Linked DNA regions of Homo sapiens: region 1 is linked to region 2. The links are contacts of gene promoters, found by promoter capture Hi-C in human tissues and cell types (Jung and others, 2019). All regions are on one chromosome and are shown on one strand. The core of a region is centred on a gene start or on the middle of the fragment in contact, and the rest is flanking DNA. Distances in the headings are between cores, read along the strand shown.

Region 1 (4,852 bases), core at 66-2,565, 1.1 Mb before region 2:
ACCCCTGGAACTTTATAATACAAGTCATAACACAAATGAGACCTGGGTCATAAAGACCCAAAAGGAAATCAAAGAGTAGTCACAGCCCTGTGTTTGTTGCCAAATAATGTGTAAACCTTCTATTAAAAATGCTCAGTGAGTAGTTGTATTGAAATGAATTGGATTGAGACAAAACAGTATTTTCTCTCCAGAGAGAAAATTAGTATTGATTCACTTTCTCCTTGAATTATTTTCTATTAAGAAATGTATAGACAAATAAGATAAATTATCTCTTTTTGCTTATAAAATATTGTATTGGAACTCCTCATCCAGATGAATACTAAGGGGATCTTTCATAGTTCTTAAGATAAAGATTATTTTCACTCTCTAGGTTTCCACGGTATTCATTTGGGTCTATTTATGTCATTAGAGTACCCTTCTTGTTTTTACCCAAAGTCCGTATCATAAATGACTGTTAGATGTTCTGTGAAGAATACCACAAGATGGCAGTATTTCGGAAATGAATCCTTAGATTACTTCTGTATCCTATCTAAAATAACATAATAGCTTTGGTTATATTTTTAGGGACTAAAAATATTCAGTTGTCATTTCAAGTGATTAAGAATTAATGATAGTATAAAATCTGTTTAGTAATAAGTTGTTTCCTTTAAGTAATATAACTATCAGTTTGATTGTTCCAAAACATTAGTAAGCTTCATCAACATATAAATGAGTTGAAGCTAGAGAATTGTCAGTAGATTCATAAATCTCATAATTGCTTACATGTTGGTCTATAACTATAACCATACTTTTAAATTGTTTGAAAAAATAACTCATCCTAAAAGACGTCAATTATATTTTGTTTCTGCATGATTGTTTAATAACCAGTTTTAGAACAAGAAATATAAATTAGCAATTACACATATTAAGTACATCATTTATATTTTTCAAAACAGTTCAGGTTTGGATATCATCGAGCTTCTCAATTTTAATTACTCTCATAAAACTCCAAAATGTTGCTTTTAAAAGAGAATATGGTTTTAACCAAAGAAAATGCTTTCATTTCAGATTTATAAGTATGTAAAATGCAGAGGGTAGAAGGCAGAAGGGTAGCAAATAGCTTTGAAATAAAAACTGTTATTCTCTTAATGCCTGATTTTAATTTCCAATTATCTGCTCAAAATTTTTAGAAAAAAATATTGCTACAGAATAGTCTAATAGTTGATAGAGCTACATCTGGGTGATGCTAATTATTTTTCTGGTGCCAAGACTCCTAGCTGTTGAAAAGTTACCAAAACTCATGGAAATATAATCCCAATATTTTAAATATTGTAAAAGTAGTACCTGTTTCTTAATACCCATCAATATTTAATAGAATATTTCATAATGCAGAACTTGACTTAGGAAGAAAACAAACCCCAAAATTTCTATTTGTCAGTGAAAGCTATTTTTAACCAAAGAAAAGAGAAGATATAAAAATGTATTTTCTAAAATAGTATTGCCACTGAGTTATAACAACTTGAATAAATTTCATTGAATAAACTGTAAACTATTTTGTGATGTCTTGCCAGAGGTAGTACTGTGTTTCTTTTGTTTGTTTGTTTCAATTACTTTACCTCTCTGTTTGCATTAGTTATAATTATCGATATAAATACATGTTAAAAGTTTCAATTTTGAGTACAGCTGTGTAATCTGCTGCAATGTTAACCCAAGTACAGAGTTTGCATGCTTGCTAGGGTTTTGTTCCATGATATGATGTAATAACCTCTCTATTGTCCCTAATTTATCCCAGCAGTCATCCCTTGTGCTAAAATTGGTTGTATAATATGAATACCTTGAGGTTTGTATTCAGAAAATGCTAGTTAAAAGTGTACCCCTCTGAGTAAGATACAGTTAAACTACAAACATCTGGGAAGATGTAATCAGAAAAAAAGTTTAATACTACAAGATAGAGCATATCATGTACAGTGCGTCATACTTATTGGTGCAGATGTTACTCATTAAGCAGATGTCATACTTAACATACATGATTTTCTCCGCCCTAAAAAAACTAGTAGTTATCCATCATGAAAGAGATGCACAGGGTAAATTAGATCCTTAGAACAAAGAGCTGAATATCCCAAATAAAGACATTAGACATTTTTAGTACATATCAAAGGGAAGCAAGCATTCTGCCATTCTTTCAGTATTTTATTATTAAAATTTAACAAGCATGAAGAAGTTTGAAGACATTTTGAGAATTTTGTGCTGATAATTAAACACTCACTTTTTAGATTTGACAATTAAATTTTTATACATATTATACATCTTTCCACCTTTCCATTTCTGTAATGATCAGTCAATATACCTTATTGTGTATTTCAAATTAAGTTGTTGATACCCATATACTTTCTTCCAAATATTTAAGCATGCATATTATCAACTAATGTTTAATATTTGTAAACTGCTTAGGTAAATTTTATACACAACTGAATGCACAGATCTTAATTGTAGATGTCTCAGATATTCTGGCCAATGCATTCACCTGTGAAATCCAAACATTTAACAAAATGTAAAATGTTACCATCGCCTGAGAAATTTCCCTCTTGCTCTTTCAAAGTCAATACACATTCTCACCACCCCAAGAACAATGATGATTCTTTTGAATTTTCTCTACCATAAATCAATTTTGCTTTTTCCAGAAACTGAGAAAAATAGAAATAAACATTATGGTAAACATTATGTGTTATTCTATATAATGGTTTTTCATTCAACATAATATTTTTGAAATTAATATTTGTTGCTGCCTAAATATTTTATTCTTTTTTATTGCGTAATAGTATTCCATTGTATGAATATGCAGCAGATTTTTAAAAATCTATTTCCACACTGAATGACTTTCTGCTGTTTCCGGTTTGGAATGAAGCAATTATGAATAAATCAGCTTTGTTTTTTCACGTTTTTTAAAATTTTTATTCCCCTGAGCAAATATCAGAAACTGAAATTGTCAAGAAGAGGTATGCTAAGATTATAAGAAACTATCAGGCTTTTCGCCAAAAGTTAAGATGCTGAATTCAGGTCCAGCTAAGACGTCATAGATTCATTTCTCCCTGTTCCTCCCCTTTAAGTACGATATAAAACCTGTGAATAATGCAAGAAGTAACCAAAAGAACTCTGCAAGGTGGTAAGGGAAAGGCAAAGTGGTTTGGAATACCAAGACTGAAGAAAGAACACAGTGCTAGGATGTTGTATGTGTCTCCACTAATAGAAGGGGAAGACTAGGTCTGGCATTTCCCAGTTCCCAGCCTAGGAAGAGCAGGCAGTACAGATTGCCTTATTCTTTCCTCTTACCCAACGAAAGTCATCTGACAACAAGCAGTATTGTATCACCATCAAGGAAAATCAGAACCTATTACCAACAAGCAACCATAGGAAGTACTCTCTTTTCCTGCTAGATCTGAACCTCCCCTCCTCCCCAGCCACCCCTTCCCCTATGGCCTTCCCTCATTGAGAGATACCACAGCAGCCAGGCAGCAGAGTAAAAAGAGACTAGACCAAAGCAACTGGAGAAATATGCTGGATCCATAGATTGGAACACTAATTATGATTATGGTGTTGATTCTTTCAGGCATAATTAATGGATTCAATGCCATTTCAGTCCAAATTCCAGCAAGTTACACTATAGATATTGACAAACTGATTCTAAACAAGATTCTAAACTGTAAAAATGCTTATCTATGTACAGCAAAATGAATATATATATATATCTTATATGTCTCATAAAAATGAGCTCAAATACACAATAGACCTAAATATAAAAATGAAAACCACAAAAACCTCTGCAAGGTGACATAGGAGCAAATCTCGGCGACAATGTGTTTGGTGATAACTTTTTAGATATAACACCAGAAACACTATCCATGAAAGGAAAAATTGATGTTAGGCTTCATTAAAATTTAAAAAATTTTTGTTCTGCAAAAGACAGTAGTAAGAGATTGAAAAGACAAGCCACAGACTGCAAGAAAATCTTTGCAAAACACATAGGTGATAAAGGCCTGGCATCAAAAACATACAAAGACCTCCAAACTCAACAATGAGAAACAAACAATCCAATTTAAAAATGGGCAAAATGTCTAAACAGATACATCATCAAAGAAGATATCATTTTTCTTCTAGGATTGCAAATTAAAACAGCAATGCCATAATAACCTACTAGAATGGTGGCTGGACTGGAGATAGAGTGGGGGTTGGAGGGGTTGGAAGTGTGGCCGTAAGGGCAGCATAAGGAAACCTTGTGCGGATGTGAATGTTCCGTATTTTGACCATATCAATGCCAATATACTAATTGTGACCGTGTACTATAGTTGTAAAAGATGTTACCAATGCAAAAACTGGTTAAAGTGTTCATAGGATCTCTCTACTTTTTTTTACTTACAACTGTATGTAAATGTATAATTTTATAATTAAATATGTATTTATTTTTAAACATATGGACCACAGTAATTCAAAACAATTTGTAAAAGACCTTTCCTTTTCCATTTGAATTGTTTTGATTTATTTATTGAAAATCAAATGATTGTATAAGTGTAGGTCTATTTCTGGTCTTTTTCTTCCATTGATCTATTTGTCGATCTCATGTAAGTAACACACTCATTATGCTAAATGTATAATAATTCTTGATGTCTAGTAGTGCAAGTCCTTCAAATTTGTTCTTCTTTATAAAGCTGGATTTGAACTTTCTAAGTCCTCTGCATTTCCATATTTTAATGGGGGAATATCAATTTCTTAAAACAAACCTAGTGTTATAATGCCTGAGACTTTTTATAGATCAATTTGGGAGAAATGGCATCTTAAATCTTCCAATCCATAAATATGAAAATATTCCCAATAACAC
Region 2 (4,625 bases), core at 1,147-3,646:
GTGATCCTCCCGCCTTGGCCTCCCAAAGTGCTGGGATTACAGGTGAGCGACATCGCAACCGGCCTCATTCACTCTTCTGACTCCTTCAAGCTCTGTCATTCCATTCGAATGTGTGTAACCTACTGCTCAGGTGTAAATACCTCTCAGGTAGAGTCTCCACATGCTGCTTTCATGCCACCCTTGCCCTTGTCCTCCCAAACCAGCATCTGCTGGTGGGTGCACTTCTATCTCAAAGAGGGAAAGGAAGAGAACTAAGAGCTCATGTTTGCTTTTGGTGTCTAGATGTTCCACGGGACTCATTATTTGATAATTATCTTTTTACGTGTCTGACACCACATCTCCCATAAACTCAGTGAGGAAGGAGCACAGCCTCAGGATTCAAACCTTAACATACATGCATTCAGCATTCATTTATCCAGCAAATACAGAATGCTTAGTTGCTTTCCATATATTATCTCAACTAGTTGTACCAACAACACTTCAAAGGAAACATTAGTATCCTTATATCACGAATGAGGAAAGCTGAGACTTTGGTCAAACCACTTGTTTAAGAACAGCTGATAAAAGGCAGTGCCATGAATCATATCCAGATTGGGTTTACTCTAAAATCAGATGCTTGTGTATCGCCTTAGTCTATTTGGTGATAATTCCTGCTATATCTCCTTTCCACCTCTTGTTTGCACCTTCTCAAGCTACCTCTTTTCTCTCTCTTGCAAATATTTCCTTACTGCTTTCTTCCACTCCCTTGGACTCAGTGGTTAAAATGGGAAATGGGGTTCTTTAATCTACTAGAATCATTTCTGGGATACTAATTTTCCACCTTCTTCCCAATTCCCATTATTTGAAGTCTAGCTATATTATCTTAAAATTTTCAATACTGTTGTCTTTCATTTCTCCCAACCGAATGGCAATTTTATTTTAGCATCTGATTTACTTTCTTCTGTACCTTGTTCTCAACAATTTAATAAAGCATAAGAATGACTCTTTAGATTCCCCAAACTCTGTTTTTCAGACTTCTTGCCTTAACAGAACTTAATAGAACTGTCTGCCTATTCCTTATCACTCAGTAACAGCATTGTCACACCCTGGATTCCAATTTAGAAATCTCACAATTCTTATTATCTCTCAAATCACATTGCATCCACCAAAACGATATGTCCTACAACACCACTGTTCAGCCATTTTCTCTTAAAACTCTTTTGGCTTCTAAAAGTGAAGCATCACTTTATTTTTCTCTATCCCATTTGTCATAAGATTAAGGACTCTGAACCTATACATAAAATAATATTAAAGCCACTGGAGGCGATACATGCAAGGGCTTGGGATAAATCCAGCTTCCGTGTGAATATTTCTTCTGTAATGTGTTAATTAATTTGTTCTATAGGATGTTAAAAGGGTTTCTTTCTCACAAGCAAGGAACTCTAGATGCCCATTTCTCTGAATCTGTGCTAGCTGGGCACCCCTAGGGGGCGCTCCGTCTCTCAAAATACAAGGGGCTGACAGCAGCGTGCCTCTGGGTGAGGCTCACTCTAGGGGTGTGGCCTCACGGAGAACCTCAACCCACAAGAGTTTGGCTTAGAAACAAGTTTGAAAACCTCTTCAGGTCCAGAGCCTTTAAATAATGCCTGCTATGCGCTAAGACAGCCCTGGGTATCCAGAGTTCACAAAGCAAGGACTGATTTCCTTTCGCCTTGACAGCCTCAGCAAAAGTGGAAGGGGGTTTGCAGAATTGCACTATTAGCAGCGTCCACCCGAAGGTCTGCACAGAATTAGACTGAGCTGATTCTGGACAAAGCCCACTGTGTACCTTTATCTACTGGGCAAAAGTTACCCCCAACACCTGCTATAATCGACTCATTTTAGGAGCAAAATGTCAGGCCATGAAGCATCAGATCATTGAAAGACCCAATTAATTAGTCCAGGAAAGGAGTAATAAGAACATCTGTGATCTGAGTTCCATACTAAGACACAGAGAGACGACTGAGTTATTCTGGTGCTTGCTGTCTGAGGTCCAGACAGTACTTGTGACCCTCTTATCCTCAGAAGAGTAACCACAATTCCCTGGAGTGAAGAATATCCCAATTCACTCATGGAGTTCACTTTAGTCTCATTCTCGACCTTTGTCACCAATTGGCTAAGGCTATTTGTTTTTCCAATTCTGTATTAGGAAAAAGAAGTTGCACAGAGGATCAGACATCAGATACGTTTCTAAATTCTGCAGCTCTGGGTGGGCAGCCTCATTTGGGGAAATGCTAGCTGCTGTTTCCAAAGTGGGGAAGCCCACGGTTTCGGACACAGGGCTGACAGCGCTGCTCCAGCAGCCCCCAGGGCCAGAGGAACCCGGCCTTAGCTCCGCCCCGCTCTGCCCGGCCCCGGGTGGCTGCGATGCCGAGGTCCTCTGCTCCCGCCGGGCGTGCAGCGGGCGCGCGCGCGTGTGTTTATGTGTCTGTGTGCGTGTGTGTGTGTGTCTCTCTCTGTGTGTGTGTGAGATGAATTGGAGTCATACGACTGGGTGTTTCCTTCCGAGTGGTTTTCATCAGCAATCCATTAGGAAATCATGGAAACTTTTTTTTTCCTGGCTAAAAGGATGAAAACTGAGTAAGTACATAGAACTTTGAACTTGAGACGGAATGAAACAAATTCAAGCAAAAACCCTGACAGTAACCATGTCCATTCAAATTGCGTATGCCCTTTTTATGTTAAAAGCCGTGAATACTTACAGGACAGTGGGAATTTAAAACTAAATGAAGGGAAGCATACAAAAGGCTGAAAGCAAGACTGCTTTAAAACCGGAGGAAAATTGAGGAACTGCTAAGGCAACCTGGCCTGAGTTCAGCTGTGCAACAGGCACTTTGGGTTTTAATCTTTTGCGTTCTTCAATGCTGTTTTCAGACTCCAGATATACTTTGGTATTGTTTTCTCTCTTCCTGCAAAGCTGAGGCAGAGTCGGACTCCTTTACTGTGAGTTGAAAGATGTGAGAATAAGGCATTGCTGGAAGCAACAGTTTGGCAGCCTGGGGTACACTCAGGTTATTCGTTACAACTATTATTATTTGATGTCTTTTTTTAAACTCAGGTCATCCACTTTTGACTGTCATCCATGGAAGAGCTCTTATTAAAAGCCTCAGACTTTCGGGACCTATGATTCTTTGGCACAACCTTTTGGAAAATTCTTAAGCAGGGATGAAGCAAACTTGATTGGAGTTGGGGAAAAAGAAGACAGATTAGTATTTTTCATGCTGACAAAAAATAGCTGCTATGACTTTTCCCGCAACGTGGACAGGGGCCAAGTGAAGCTGAACTGGTCATGGTCTGTCGCCCAGTGTTCCCTTGTCGTCGGCGATTTTGCCCCCGACCCTTCTTGGTGGGCTTAGTGGTGGCAATCTGTCTCTTCTACCAGACTCTGACCCTCCGAGGGTCGAGGAAGCTCACAGCCGCTGCCCCTGGGGCTGTCCCACACACATCCACTGAAACCCAGGCAAGCAGATGCAAGAAAGGATTCTCTCAGGACAAACAGTGCTTCCTTCTCTCTGGTAATGCCCAGGAAACCAGAAAGGTAAGACTCTCATAAGCTTAACGGAGACAGTTTCTGCAAAGACAGCAATCTGCTTCTCTGTCCTTTCTATAAAACTAAAATTAACTTCCATGAGGTCTGAAAGGGATCCAGAGTGTAAACAGCCTAGAGAGTGACCTGATGACTGGGAAACACGTTACATAAGCTTCAACTTCTTATAGTTACTTCCAGAAAGTTCTGGCATTACTTTATCTCTTAGGATTTCACTTCATTTCAGTGGAATGAAGTAGACAGTTTGGAGGAGGCATAAAATGATGTGGATTCTTTCTAAAATATCAGTATTCTAAGAGATCTGAGGATTTACAATTCAAAAACATAAATCAAAGTTTCAAAAACTTTGATAAACCTTGAGTGTCTCTTTTCTCAAGGCAGTCAGTATGAGTGCCCAGACCATTCCAGACTCAAAGATTCTCCAAAGTTTCATTTTGTAACTAGCTAGATTGATTCTTAATTGGTGACCACATTTCTAAAGCAATATATTTACTTCGAAAGCATTAAAATAATAGGATAATAGGTTTCTTCAAAAGAATTGATACAATGTATTTTATTGTTTATAGGATCAGGGAAATACAGATTATTCTATATTTATACTATTCAGATAAACTTACTAATCTTACTTGTCAAATATTGAAAAAAAACACAAAAAGCACACAAAGTAACACAGGATTTCTATTTTAATATACCACTCTCCTCATGCCTATCAGTAATATAATGACCTGTAACATAGTCAAGTGTAAAACAGAACATGAAGAAATAAAAAAAAATCCATGCAAAAAAGATCATGGTGGCAAAGCTACTAAATTTTATGTTACAACAAGTAGTATTGTAGCAACAAAATAGAGGGCTCTGTAAGTAGCATCTTATATCTACAGTAGATTCTGGTCGATCTTATGATGCCGGTTACCGTTTGAAGTAGAATTTCTACTTGAACACCAGCTCCGTTGCTACCATTATTACCAAAACCTCCACGATTGACCAGCACCACTTCTTTTAAAAACTCTTTTATTTATTTCGTTTCAGACTACTGCCCTGTGAGACAGGTACAGTAGAT

The links. The method cuts DNA at HindIII sites, captures the fragments that hold promoters and counts their contacts. A contact is called where the count stands out against the background at its distance.
Region 1: a contact is called between a fragment that was not itself captured here and the fragment with the promoter of CPED1 in region 2, in 1 of the 25 tissues and cell types used here (heart left ventricle).

The regions. Positions count from the first base shown.
Region 1 is chr7:119,935,137-119,939,988 of GRCh38, forward strand. No RefSeq gene overlaps it. Among named protein-coding and RNA genes, the nearest start is that of LINC02476, 30 kb to the left of the region's middle. The HindIII fragment of the contact is 4,038 bases long and covers 1-3,334 here.
Region 2 is chr7:120,986,315-120,990,939 of GRCh38, forward strand. It overlaps CPED1 (cadherin like and PC-esterase domain containing 1), which reads left to right and starts at 2,397. Exons shown (of 23, transcript NM_024913.5): 1 at 2,397-2,598; 2 at 3,077-3,556. The coding sequence starts at 3,308. RefSeq lists an enhancer at 1,573-1,652. The HindIII fragment of the contact is 8,627 bases long and covers 1-4,625 here.